Regions from separate parts of the Homo sapiens genome. Here regions 1 and 3 are each linked to region 2. The links are contacts of gene promoters, found by promoter capture Hi-C in blood cells and fetal thymus (Javierre and others, 2016). All regions are on one chromosome and are shown on one strand. Each heading gives the region's core, a stretch centred on a gene start or on the middle of the fragment in contact. The rest is flanking DNA. Distances are from core to core; before and after follow the strand shown.

Region 1 (4,307 bases), core at 1,557-4,056, 120 kb before region 2:
AGCCCACTCTTAGGCGGGAGTCTTCTGTATGGTGAACTCTGTATGTATGTATGCCCACCTGTCTTGGTCTAGACACCTCCGGGGCAGCCAGTTTTATTGCGGGAGTCCTCAAGGTTAACCGCCCCCACCCCCATCTCTATTAATTCCCTTCTCTGGATCCTAGCCCCAGCCCCAGGGTTTCCCAGTTCCTTCCCTCCCAGCCCCTGGCCCACAAGTTCTGGCCATTAACGTTCCCACGAAAACAGACACCCAGACCAGACCGAGGCAGACTACTACCCTCCAGGTCTGACCCCCTGGGAAACCCATGGTTTGGTTTGCCCAGCTCCTGGGGACAGAGCCCAGGGAGACAAATTGCCCCAGAGGAAGAGCCACTGGGGGTCACGCAGAGGCCAAAGGCAGTGATGAGGGAGGCGGTGGGAGCAGAGCCCACCCTGCTCCTGAGGATGCACAGGGAGGTAAAGACCCTGACCCTTGGGGGGTTCCCAGCCCAGGTGGAAGGCGCAGCACCCACAACCCCCTTCTCTCTGGGCCCAGCTCCCCAGCCTGGGGTTCCAGAGTGGGGCCTTTTGGAGGGTATGGCCGTGCTGAGGGGGAGGGGAAATGCGGGGGGGGGAACTTCTTGAAGGGGATGAGGGCTCCGAAGGGACAGGGGGTCTGTGAGGGGAATAAGGGCCCGGTAAGGGAGGGTGGGCTCATCTGTGCGGGGTCCATCTGGGAGAAGATGGGGACTCAGTATGGGCGATGAGGAAAAAACTATAGGCCTTTCTTTCTTCCCAACGTTGGGGGCTCAGCGCTGCAGCCCGGGCCCTTTTCCGCACCACCTCCCCCCCCACCCCTCTCTCCACCCACAAGCCTCTGCGTGGGCTGCGGTTAGTGGTGGGAAGAAGTGTGAACTCGAGAGAGAGGATGGAAACTCTGCACGGAGGTCAAGGGCAGCGTGGGGTGGGTCAGGACGGAAGTCGGAGACCCCCGCATACCCTGAGCGTAGCCTCATGCCCCAGAACCAGCAGGCCCAGGGCCTCCCCCTTCACGCTTCTCACCCTCCCTACTTCCTTTCTTTCAAGTCTCCTTCGGCCAGGGCACCCGCGCTGCACTCACAGGAGTTAACCCCTGAGCACTTGCAGCCTCGGGGGCTCCCAGAGGCTAGGTGGGTCTGAGGGATGTGTGGGCTTTCAGCCCCAGTCCTTGGTGCTTTGCCTGCCAGCAGGGTGGGGAGCAGCTCATGCCAGCGCCCCCTCCCTCGATGGGAAACGCCCATCTTCCCTCCTTAAACCGAAGCCACTAGGCTGCTGTCTCCAAAAAAAGGCTCAAAACAAGTTTCCCCCCTTCTCCACCTATCTGCTAGGCACTCCCCTGAAATTTTTTTTTTTTTTTGTCCATGCCAGACACTATGCGAGGTGATTTACCTACAAAATCTCATTTCATTCTCACAAACGTGATGTAGGTATTGTCCCCCTTTTACAGATGAGCAAACTGAGGTGCAGGGAAGTGAAGTAATCTGAGAGTTCAGTAAGAAATTCAGTGCAGATGCCAAGTGGGTCCTGAGCAGATCGGGTGATGGCACCTCTGCGGTGTGTTTCTGGTTCAGGTTCTTCTTCAGGTAGAAAGCCCTTATATGAGGGGCAACCGTGTGATTTGTTGACCAGACTGGATCACTTTTGAAAGTGAAAGGGGGCACTATTAATAATTATGCTGGGGCAACTAGCGTGAACTGGGACAGTCCTAGGCAAACTGGGATCTCTGGGCACCCCACCTATGTAGGAACCCTGGTTTCCAGGCCTACCCCTGAGCTGCTCCAATCAGCTGCATCTGGGAAGCTTTCTAGACCCGGGATGTCAGCTCTGGTGGATTCGTGGCAGGGGCTGCCATGAAGAGCCAGGCTCTGGGGACCCCACCAGTCATAGCTGGTCGAGGAGAGAGAAGGGGCTCAAGGCGCCCGAAAGGAAGTGGTGGAGCACTGGGTTGTTGCAAAGCAACTTCCTCCTCCCCGCCGGCCCGCAACCTCAAGTCCGTTCCACGGCCCGGTGCCTGTGGTCCCCTCCCCGAGGGTCGGGCGGGAAGACTGATGCTGGGTGTGCCTGTGGGTGGTGGAAAGTTTGGTCCCTAAATTATCCCACAGGGGTGAGGTGGCTGGGGCAGCTGGGGGCAGCTTTGAGCAAGGATGGAAGGGCCCTGGAAGGTTGGATTTCTGTTTTCCTCCCAATTCTGAATCAGACGATGATTCTGACCACATGGACAGCTCTAAACCTAACCCTAATCCTAACCCTTTTACTGCTCCCGTCCCTGACTCTAACCCTATCCCTGATCCTGACCTTCAGCTCTGTCCACAATCTTGGCCACGTGCTACATCAACCCCACTCCTAGTCTGACCCTGGCTCCTTTAATCCTGTCCTCAAGGCAGTCCCCAGCTTTATCGTTTCCAGAAGTGTGTGAGATCTGTGAATTATTCGTGGAAAGACTGAATGAAAGGATGCGAAGCGTGGAATATTTGCAGCCCAGGGGGCCCTCCTTCCTGCCAGCTCTGCCATTTGCTCTCTGGCTCCTCCGAAGTTGCCAGCTTGGCAGGCTGAGGTGCCAAGAACCTGTGTTTGAATCTGCTGTGTGCCACTGCCACTCTGTGACCTTGAGCCAGCCTCTTAATCGCCCTGATTTTCTACTTCCACATGTGTCTAGCACCTTCCTATCACCCCCAGGGAAGGGGTGGTGATTCTCAGGGCTTCCAGGCCACTGCCAAGGTCCCCAGTCCCCTCCTCCTCTTCGTCTTTCCCTTCTGTTGCTGCCTTGCCTTTCCTCTCCCCTCCTTCCCGCTTCTTTGGGGGACGTTATAGCATGATGGTCAGTAGCCTGGACTTTGGAGTCTAGGGGGCAGAGCTCCCATCCCAGCAACTCCATTGCTAGTAGGCTTTATGATTTTGGTCAAGTAACTTAACCTCTGTAAGCCTCAGTTTTCTCATCTGTAAAATGAAGGTAACAGTGGCAATGCCGTAGGGTTGTTGTGGAGATGAATAAAGTTCTCAGCAGAGTGCCTGGCCCCGGGGTGAGCACTCAAACAGATCATCCGATTCTTTTCTCTCTGGGTGCCTCCCAGGTTTTGAAAGACTCAGAACTTTCTCCTGTCATGTAAGCAATAAAGCAGCATCCAAATGCAGCCATCTGCTGCCACTTACCTGACCCATTCTTCCCAAGCAGTCATGATGGTGAAAAAGCACTCAGGTGTGGGCCAGGAAGCCAGGAAATGGAATGTGTATTTCGGTGCACGTGTGCAACTCTTGGTTGTGTTGTGAAGTTGAGATTTTTTTTTCCACTGAATTGGCAGTGTTTTCAGTGAGTCATTCAGGTCGTTAGCATCTTCAGCGGCCCAGGCCTGTGCATCTTGAGATGGAGAGAGACACCCAATGAAGGGGGAGGTCCCAAAAGGCCATGGGGCATCAGGAGGAGGTCAAGTCAATCACCTTGCCGGGGACTTAGCAGTCTTTGTGAGGGTTGCCTGAAGTTCTGGGTGGACAGAACCCACCTGCCTCAGGCCCCAGGTGGCAGAGCTGGGAGAGGGGCTGGGCATTGTGGGCCAGGGCTTCTTCCTTCCATTTTCAGCCACCCTGTCTGTTTCACTGTGAGAAGGATGCCAGGGGCTGGGTGGTAGAAACTGGGGTAGCTCCTGACAAGGGGAGGGAGGCAAGCAGGGGAGTGACAGGGACCTGGGAACTGAGTGTGGCAGGTGAAATCTCTGAGGCGGGGTGTGAAGACGACGACCTGTATCTGTCGCCTGAGATACAGCAGTGAAAATGGATGGTGAGAGAAGCTTTGGCTATGTGGACAGAGGACCACACTCTGTCTGTGCCCTGCCCAGAGCCCTCTCCTTCCCCTGCTGCCAAGGAGATAGCACGATCCTGCCCTCCAAAAACCGCCAGTCTGATGGGGGACACACAGCTCCTGCCCACAGATGTCCTCAGTCTGAAGGGGAAGCCTTCCCTTGGGGAGTCCCCAATTTGACGTGGGACACACCTGGACCTCCCAGTCTGATGGGGGAGATGCCATTTCTTCCCACAGACCCATGAGCTGAGGATGAGGGGGCACAGGACACATTTAACAAAAACAAGGGCTGAGATGTGATGGGATGGAGGCTGCAGGGTCTCAGCAGCAGCTTCTGGGACTCCTTCCTCTCTGCCTGCCCAGCCCTGCTCACCATCAGATGGGTGGCGAGGACTCCCTCCCTAAGAAGAGGGCTGTCTCCCAGAGACCTGGCCCATTTGCAGTAATTTGGCTTTGGCCCAAGTGGGTTAAAAATAGTCTTGTGGGAGGGGCAGTTT
Region 2 (4,312 bases), core at 306-2,805:
TCTCAGGCAGGAAGGGCGGGTCCCTCTCTTGGAAGTCCATGGAGAAGGGAGAGGCCACTCCCTGCTGGGGATGTAGAGCAGGGAGCAGGGTGGAAGGGGAAGGATGTCACCTGCTCCTGACGGGGTCCTTGAAGCAAGAGAAAGACCCCCTTAACGCAAACTCTGCTATCACCTTCCCCACCTCCAGCCCCTCCCACACCCTCTGAGATAAGGGCTCCCCAACATACCCTCTGCTCACCTGCCAAGCCTCTCCCAAGTCTGCCCCTCTGTCCCGACCCCACCCATTTTCACCTGATATGGACACTGCCCTGAGAGTGAACTAGCACACAGCAGACGGGCAGGTGCCCAGGGAAAACCACAAGACATATGCCCAGCCCCGCCTTGGGCACATACTCTGGGGCTCCAAGAAACATTCAGTGCTTTCTTTAGAGGCTTCCCTGGGAGTGCTCAGAGGTGAAGCAAGGGAGTGACAGAAGAGGCTCCAAGAAGAGACAGAGGGGTTCAGAGACTGGACAAGCGAGACCTCCTCAATCCAGCTGCCTCTGCCTTCAGGACCCCTCCACCCTGCCACCGTAGCTCAGAGACTTCTCTGCCATGATCTTGCAGAAAACTCCCCAGCCTCCCACCAATTAATCTCCATATTATCTAGTGCTTGGAGAAACTGAGGCCTGAGATAGCCCCCATTTTCCCATGTCTCCTCCCACCAAACATGCCCCTAGGATGCCCTTTTTGGACCCTCAGTACCCCCTAAAGCCTCACCATCCCCTGTCTACCCTCACAGTCCTTGGGGCTCTGAGAAGTGCCACCCACCCAGAGAGGGCAGGACATTGGGCTAAAGGAGATACTTCATGAGAGAAGAGGGGGCCCAGGACATGCCCAGGTCTGCACAGGTCCTGCAGCAGTGCCCACAGGCACCCTTGGCACTGGCCCTGGCCATCCTGGCTCCACCGGGAGATCAATAATGCATGAGGCTCTGCATGTGTGAGACGGGGGAGGGGACTGGAGGGGCGAGGCTGGTTTGAGGTGGGGGAAGCAGCCCAGATCTTCTAATGGAGCTAGCAAGCACCTGAGGAACTGAGGCCCAGAGGGGACAGGGATGTGGCAGGAACGGGTGCCCAGGAGGTTGGGGCAGAGGGACCCTTGCTGCAAGAGGCTGACCTGGGAGGAAACTCCTGCATTCAGCCATTGAAAGTTCTCAAACTCTTCCGGTGTTCAGGTATCTCTGGGCCCTTCTCCCGGCCCTGTGGGGATCCTGGCCCCTCACTGCTTGTGGGTAGAGGGGGAGGCTCTATCGGTAGGCAGGTGAAGGGTCTAGGTGAGCCAGGTGGGTGCCCCCTCTCCACCTCTATTCAGGAGCAGACCCACCAGCTTCAGGTGGGAGGAAGCTCTTCTCAGGAATGTCAGCTGCTGCCACGCAGCCCCCTTACCCCAGGGTCCATGGACGCCAGTACTCCTTGGCCCTTGCGCCGCTCTGCCTCTGAGTCACCGTCTCCGAGTCACCGGCTCCCTCCTCACCGCGCTGAGCAGTGGCAGCAGCTGCTGCAGGAACCAGGAAGGAAGGAGATGTCAGAGCCTCCCCTCTAGCCGGATCTCCCCACCTCCCTCTCCCCTGTCCCCTCCTCCCGCCAAGCTCCGGGCAGCCGCTCAGCTCTGCCCCCCTGCTCCCCGGAGGACTCAGGGCTGAGCAGACTGCCCTAGCATCGATGTGGCTTGGGAGTGGGGGCACAGTCCCTGCTGGGCATGGTTCCAGATAGATCAGAGGACTGGGGAACTGTTGGCTGTACGCCAGTGGTGATAAAGGATTTATTCAGACTAGCATGGCAGTGACCCTGTTAGTACCCAAGGCCAATTCCTAATTAACCCCCGCCCCCCGCCTCTCATTTTACATCTGAAAATAGACTGCAAAATTTGGAGCCAGCAAAAGTATCAGGTTGATGGTGGAGGGACAGATGCCCCCTCTGGGACCATAAGAGAGTGCCAAGAGCACAGTCAGCAGGGGCAGTCAAGCCAGGAAAGGGACAGCCAGCAGTCCCCACACTGAGGCCCTTCACTGGGGTGATGCCCCACTAGGTCAGGCCCCATGGAGATCTGAAAGTGCTTGTGTGTATGAAGACACCCCACAGCCTGCAGTCTCTGATCAGGAGCAGGCCTGGGGCAGTCACAGCTGCCGTTAAAAGGGCTGCAATGCTGGTCCCCTCCCTTCCCTTTACCCTTCTGCTGGAGTACTGTGCCCAGCTGCTCAATTCTAATGAAAAATCGGCTCTTAACAAAGATCTAAAATTCATTCAAATGAATGTGGCATAGACCTACAGTTTCAAGCGCAGCTAAGTTTTCTGGAAAGAAGTAGGTGGGGCCTCAGGTGAAGGATGTGATTCAAGTTTCTTCTCTGACCCCAAAAGTGACATGGGCCACTTATCCCTTCCACTTCATCCTCACCGAGCTTGGTTTACGTTTCAGGGTCTCACATATCTCTCGGGAACACCCACTGTCTTGCCTTTATTCAGAGCCTCAGTGCTGCTCCAGCCACCCCAGGAGGAGGGTGTTGTTAGCACCTGGCAGGGTTCTGGGAGGGACAGGAGCACTGGGCAGCACTGACCAGACAAGCTCTGGCATCCAGGAGCCTCAAGGGCCTTTTAAGCCACTTCCCAGTGATTGAACATCCCTGGGCATACAGCACAGGATGAGGCACTGGGGGAAGCTGGTCCTGGCCCAGGCCACAAAAGAGCTGCTGCAGGTCATCCCTGCCAGACAGTGCCTGTCCAAGACTAAGGAAGCGGTGGCATTGCTTCAAGTCCGAGAAGGAATGTTGAACAGCCACCTTCCCCGGGTCACCCCTGCATCCACCCAGAATGTGCTCCAGTCAAGGATGATGGTGGACTCTGAGTTAAGCATCCCGTCTCCTTTATTAGGAATTTCTGGTTCATGAAGACTTGCATGAGGCCTCCTACCCTAGAGCTCTCAGAATTCCCCATTAATAGAGAATCCTAGTTTTCCCGCAGGCCTTTTGTCCAGAACCACCAGAGACACGTTAGCTAGTGGGTACAGCTGTCAGCTGCCTTTAATAGGGCAAGCATGCGCGGGATGCCATTTGTGGGAACAGGTATAGGGGAAGAGGATTTTCCTAGGAAGGGAAGCAAGAGTGAGGAAAGTCAGATGACAGAGAAGCCCCTGAGAGTAAGTTTAGAGGGAGGACAACCGTGTAAACCACAAAATAAAGGAAGTAGAATATATTTCATTTTATTATAAAGCAGTGCTCCCAAACTTTTCACAGCGTACACCTCGAGGGTGGAGAACTAACATCCAAGCACACCTGGATGGTGGATGGGACCCACTTCTGGGTAACCTGATGAGGAAGCTCTAGTGAAGAAATTCAGGACGCGGTCTTCAGAGCAGAGGGCTTGGTTCAAGTCCCTGTTCTGCCACTTACTAACTGCATGACCTTGAGCAAGCCACTTAATTTCTCTGCTCCTTCTCTGTGAAATGGGTACAATGTGGTCAGCAGTAAAGGAACTAATACATGTACAGCACTCAGCACAAAGCCTGGCACACAGCAGGCTCTCACCAGGTGCCATTCTCAGCACAACTGCTTGGTTGAGCTACTGTGGCAGTGGCAGGTTGTGCCCCAAGGGGGTGGGCTCAGGAGCCCGTGCAGCAAGAGGCAGTGACCAAGGAGGCAGGGGACAATAGCCCTATCTTTTCAGGATCTCTGCCTTGGACCTGGAGAATGGAGAGACTTTGCTCCTATCACGTCCCAAGTTGGGAAAACTAAGGACGAAGCCGGTGACTGACATCTGAAATGGAATCCTCTGCATCTCCAAGTGGCCCTATACCTGACAATATCATTACTAGTGAAAACCAAGTGACAAACACACTCCCCGACCCCAAGTTCTTCCACATGTCCCATTGAGGAGAGCACAGCCAATAACGCAGAGTGTATTTATGCGCAGGGCTGGCTAAACAGGCTGGCTACGAGTCCGGAACAGTGTCAGGATCTGGCTTCCCATTGGCCGACATGACAGAATCCTTCTCGCGTTGCTCTCTGATGTACTGGTCCAACAGGGTGGTCAGCTGGAGGGGCTGGTGCTGGAGCAGGGAGTGGGTCTGGGCTGTGAGGCAGGTGAGGCCTCCTACAAGCTCCCCCTGCACCAGGGGCAGGCTGGGGAGCTTGGAGTAGTTGATAAAGCCCTGCCTGCTGAGGATGGTGTCATCAATGCAGCCACCTGGAAGAACACAGGGTCAGTTAGGCTCCTTGCAGATTGCCTTTCTTCTCTGAAAACAATATTCTGACCCTAGTAACTTGCTCTCCATTGCC
Region 3 (4,560 bases), core at 72-2,571, 99 kb before region 2:
GATGAGGCAGCTGGTGGCTCCACTTGGCTCTGCTGCCTCACTCTTGGCCACTGGCTCACGTGTCCCAAGGTGAAAAGCAAGAGGGAGGAGAGTGCAGGTTCGATTAGCAGGAGGGCAGAGCAGAAGGTGTGATGAACTTAGGCGTGGGCAGAAAGACGGAAGCACTGCCTGGCAGGGCACATGCCCAGTGGCATTCTCTTCCCATTCTAGGAGCTGCCCAGGCCCCTTCCCTCCTCAGGCAGAAACACCTAACAGCTTGGATGGCTGGCAGTGGGCTCCGTTGCCTGGGGCAGGGAGTTTGGAGAAGTGAGGAAGGCTCCTGCCTCTCACTCCACCTGGAAACCAGGACTCCTGGGTCCTTCCCATCTGGACTCATCTTCCTCCACTGCCACAGTGGCTGCTGTGTGACGAAGCTAGTCCCTGCCCCTTTCGGTCTCTCAGCCCTGCTTCCCCACTCCTACCCCATCAGCAGGATGGGATTTGCTGAGTAACGGGGTCGGGTTCTGCAGGGTCATCAGACAGAAAGGACACCAGGAGAGGTGAGAAGAGGCCTGGGTTGAGGGAAGGGTAATGTCAATTAGGACACCAGGATGACTTCCCAAAACATAGGGGAACACTCACTGGGTGACATAGAGGGCCCTTCCATCTTGCCTTTCTCCAGAGGGAATAAGGAGAAGGACTCAGCCCGGGTTGGGTTGGGTACCTTATAAGGAGAGAGGGTCAGGGGATAAAAATAACTGAGAGCCTGGGAAAATTGTGTCACCTCTCTGAGCACCAGCTTCTCATCTGCAAAATGGGAACGATAGTGTCCTCTTCACACAGGTGTGGGAGGCTCCACTCAGGAAAGTGCACAGTAAGTGTTCATTAGGTCACCAGCCATGTGATCTTGACAAGGTATTTAACTTTTCTTTTTTTTTTTGAGACAGAATCTCTGTCTGTTGCCCAGGCTGGAGAGCAATGGCACGATCTCGGCTCAGTGCAGCCTCTGCCTCCTGGGTTCAAGCAATTATCCTGTCTCAGCCTCTTAGTATCTGGGATTACAGGCATGTGCCATCACGCCCGGCTAATTTTTGTGTTTTTAGTAGAGATGGAGTTTCACCATATTGGCCAGGCTGATCTCGAACTCCTGACCTCCAGTGATACACCCATCTCAGCCTCCCAAAGTGCTGGGATTACAGGCATGAGCCACTGTGCCCAGCTGGTACTTAACTTTTTTTTTTTTGAGATGGAGTCTCGCTCTGTCACCAGGCTGTAGTGCAGTGGCACAATCCCAGATCACTGCAACCTCCAACTCCCTCGTTCAAGCAATTCTCCTGCCTCAGCCTCCTGAGTAGCTGGGACTACAGGCGCGTGCCACCACACCAGGTAATTTTTGTATTTTTAGTAGAGACGGGGTTTCACCATGTTGGCCAGGATGGTCTCAATCTCCTGACCCTGTGATCCTCCCGCCTCGGCCTCCCAAAGTGCTGGGATTACAGACATGAGCCACTGTGCCTGGCTGATACTTAACTTTTTTATATCTCAGTTTCCTTGTCTGTAAAATGGGAACAATGGTTCCCACCCAGTTGCCTTCACACCATTGTGAAGTCTAATGAAATCAAAGGTATATTGACTAGTCTTAACCAAAAAAAAAAAAAAAAAAAAGAAGAGAGAGAGAGAGAAAGAAAGAAAGGAAATAAAGGGTACGAGTTGCCTGGGGATGTTCTTTTTTTTTTTTTTTTTGACAGTCTCTCTCTGTTGCCCAGGCTGGAGTGCAGTGGTACAGCCTCAGCTCACTGCAACCTCCGCCTCCCGGGTCCAAGCAATTCTCCTGCCTCAGCCTCCCTAGTAGGTGGGATTACAGGCACCTACCACCACGACCAGATAGGTTTTTTTGTATTTTTAGTAGAGATGGGGTTTCACCATGTTGGTCAGGCTGGTTTCGAACTCCTGATCTCAAGTGATCTGCCCACTTCGGCCTCCCAAAGTGCTAGGATTACAGGCATGAGCCACTATGCCTGGCCGGGATATTCTCTTATCTCATCCTTTACCCCTCAACCCAGAGTGGTGATAGGAGGAGGGGGTTAATTAGGAAGAACTGGGGTTTTTACAGTTTCCAAACTCACTGGGAGTCAAGGATTGAGACAAAGTACAAGCTAGATTTGGCAACATCCAGGGTCATGCATGGGAACCTGGGAGCCCCATGCCCCACTGCCTATTTGCAGGGCCCTGGGTCTTGGGTGGCCCTAGTTCAGTGTGTGCATGTGTGTGAAATGCAAGGTGATGAGGTCAGTATCTCAACTCCCAGTTACTGGTCCAGTTGCTAAGAACTTGCCTGACCATAACCATCCTTTCCCAACTCACAGAATGTCAGGTTCTGATGCCAGTGATTGGAAAGAAATGGCGGTGAGCAAGGAGAGGGGGCAATGCTGGGCAGCCATGCCACCTTTATGTCCCCTGTGGCCAGAGACGTGGGTCCAGGGCCCTTCTCAGTGCCCAGCTCGGTCCAGCCAGCTGCCCATGGCCCTGGTGGGAGGAGGTAGGCTGGACGCCTTCTGACACTTCCTGGGTAACTGAGCGGGGCAAGCAGCAAACAGCAGGCTCCTGGGGAAATCTCAGACTTGTGTGTCAGAGCGGATCTGTGTCTGGGGTGGTAAGTGGGGTTAAACTCAAGGTCAGACCTAGCCAATCCATTTTCGCGCCAACATGGCCTTGGGTGTCCTCCATTCCAGTGGCTGGGACCCAGGTGCCCACTCAGCTGGAGACAGCACTGCTGGGAGCCTAATGCCTGGTTTGTCCCTCTGCTTCACACACTGGTTGCTTGCCTGATTTCTGCCTGTGCCTAGGATTTATAAGGAAGGGAGTTGTGGCATGTGGATCCCAGGCCTCCGTTCTACTCCCAAATTTCAGGTGCTAATCTCTCCATGAGTTTCAGTGACCTCAGAAAAGGAAATGGGATTAAGCTGCAATTTAAGGGGTTGTGGGAAGACAGCTGAAAGAATGTCCCAGTCTTCAGTAGAGGAGGTGGGAGGTGGCTGTAAACTGCCTAAATCGGGGGAACACTACCAGGAATCTCAAATTGCTGTACAATGCAGACACAGTCAATCAGCCTCCACCTACTTAGATCTCTAAGTGCTTAGAGATCACCAACCTGTCCCAGGCTCCTGAGTCTATTACCTCACTCCTCCTTGTTCTCTGCCTTTCCCAGGCTACTGTGGTTATGATTTGTGGCAGAAGTTGGGAAGGCAGAAAAGGAGAGAAGGAGGGAAAAGGACAATCTGAGAACAAGCTGGAGGGCCAAAGTGGACCCCTTGCAGAGTTGGCAAGATGGCAAAGGGGATGCAGTGGCAGGTGAATTAGTTCAGATGGGCAAGAAATGTAGGATAAGTCAGCAAGCTGCCTTTGCGCAGGAGATCCCTAGGTGAGAAGGTAAGAAGGGCTTCCACATGCGGCAGTAGCCTCAGTGTTTCTGGAATGGAGTTTGTATATATGTTGTGGGTGGGGTAGGGGGAACAGAAGAAGAGCTGCAGCATCCTGCCTTTGAGGAGGAAGATGGTACAACAGGAAGGCCAGGAGGTGGGCTGCAGGTAAAATGTCCCCGTGAGACAGGGTTGAGGGAAGCAGAGGGCCAGCTGCTGGGCCTGCAGCCTTCTTGCCCCCACTCCCAGCTCACCCGCCCACTGCAAACACTCCTCAGCTCCCCCACCCCATTCTGGCCCACAGCCCTGGGGAAGCGACATGGCGTTCTCACCACGGACCCAGTGCCGGCTGTGGCTTCTTCCCTCTGACCTATTTTTTAATCATTTGATGGGATTTTTCCCCCCCAAACCAAACCCCCAGCCCCCTGGGCCCGTCAGCTCCACCGCGTGTCAAAACCACCCCTGTCACTTTGCGTTGGTTTCTCAGTCCAGCCAGCCCCTCCCCGCAGGGCCTGAGAGCGATGGCTAATTACCCAGCTGCTGAACGCCCCCCACTCCTGCCCCTCCACCCCTAGCCCTGACAGAGGGGCCCTGGAGGACTGCTGGGAGAAGCTGGGGCCTCCTCACCCTCCCACTGCTTGGCAGGAAGTCCTTCCTGCTGTCTAACCTCCATTCTTCCCTCTGTCCTGCCCCTAGTGGTGCTGAATCGCAGACACAGAGGCTGTTGGTACTATAAGGGTCTTTGGGATACCTCCTTAAGGGACAGAAAGGGGCAACTAGTCTTCTGTCCTGGGTTTAGGGATGTCTTCTGTCACTCTGGCTCTCTAACAGAATTCTAGGGGATGGTCCTTGCTGTCTCATTTTACAGAGCAGAAAACTGCGACACACAGAGGGAAAGGGCCTAGCCCAAGGTGATCTACGCCAGTGGCGGAGCCAGAATCAGAACCTAGAGTTCCATGTTTGTCTTTCCACCTGTTTCTGGGTCCTGTTTCTGGTATGTAGAGGGCCCACCCCCACATACCAACTAGGTCTGTTTCTGTTTCTGTGCAACTCCGCTGCCAGCCCTGAGCAGGTGTGTTCCCTGCCATGCCCTCTCTCCCTTGCCCCCTGGCCACACAGAGCTTCACCCTGGCATTTCAGGGCTGGGCAGCTTGCTTCAGGC

What was found. Contacts are between HindIII fragments. The CHiCAGO score rates a contact against its expected background, and 5 or more counts as called.
Region 1: a contact is called between a fragment that was not itself captured here and the fragment with the promoter of OSBPL7 in region 2, in 2 of 17 cell types (M1 macrophages and M0 macrophages). The highest score is 7.0, in M1 macrophages.
Region 3: a fragment that was not itself captured here is called in contact with the fragment with the promoter of OSBPL7 in region 2 in 1 of 17 cell types (M1 macrophages); the score reaches 5.1 in M1 macrophages.

The regions. Positions count from the first base shown.
Region 1 is chr17:47,702,382-47,706,688 of GRCh38, forward strand. All of the region lies in intron 7 of TBKBP1 (TBK1 binding protein 1), which reads left to right. Among named protein-coding and RNA genes, the nearest start is that of TBKBP1, 10 kb to the left of the region's middle. RefSeq lists an enhancer at 769-888 and a silencer at 1,923-2,022. The HindIII fragment of the contact is 1,982 bases long and covers 1,816-3,797 here.
Region 2 is chr17:47,820,239-47,824,550 of GRCh38, forward strand. OSBPL7 (oxysterol binding protein like 7) reads right to left here and starts at 1,556. Exons shown (of 23, transcript NM_145798.3): 1 at 1,428-1,556; 2 at 1-127. The coding sequence starts at 40. It overlaps MRPL10 (mitochondrial ribosomal protein L10), which reads right to left. Exons shown (of 5, transcript NM_145255.4): 5 at 3,034-4,220. The coding sequence ends at 3,967. RefSeq lists a silencer at 1,519-1,734 and an enhancer at 1,845-2,014. The HindIII fragment of the contact is 20,101 bases long and covers 1-4,312 here.
Region 3 is chr17:47,721,845-47,726,404 of GRCh38, forward strand. No RefSeq gene overlaps it. Among named protein-coding and RNA genes, the nearest start is that of TBX21, 9.1 kb to the right of the region's middle. The HindIII fragment of the contact is 8,318 bases long and covers 1-4,560 here.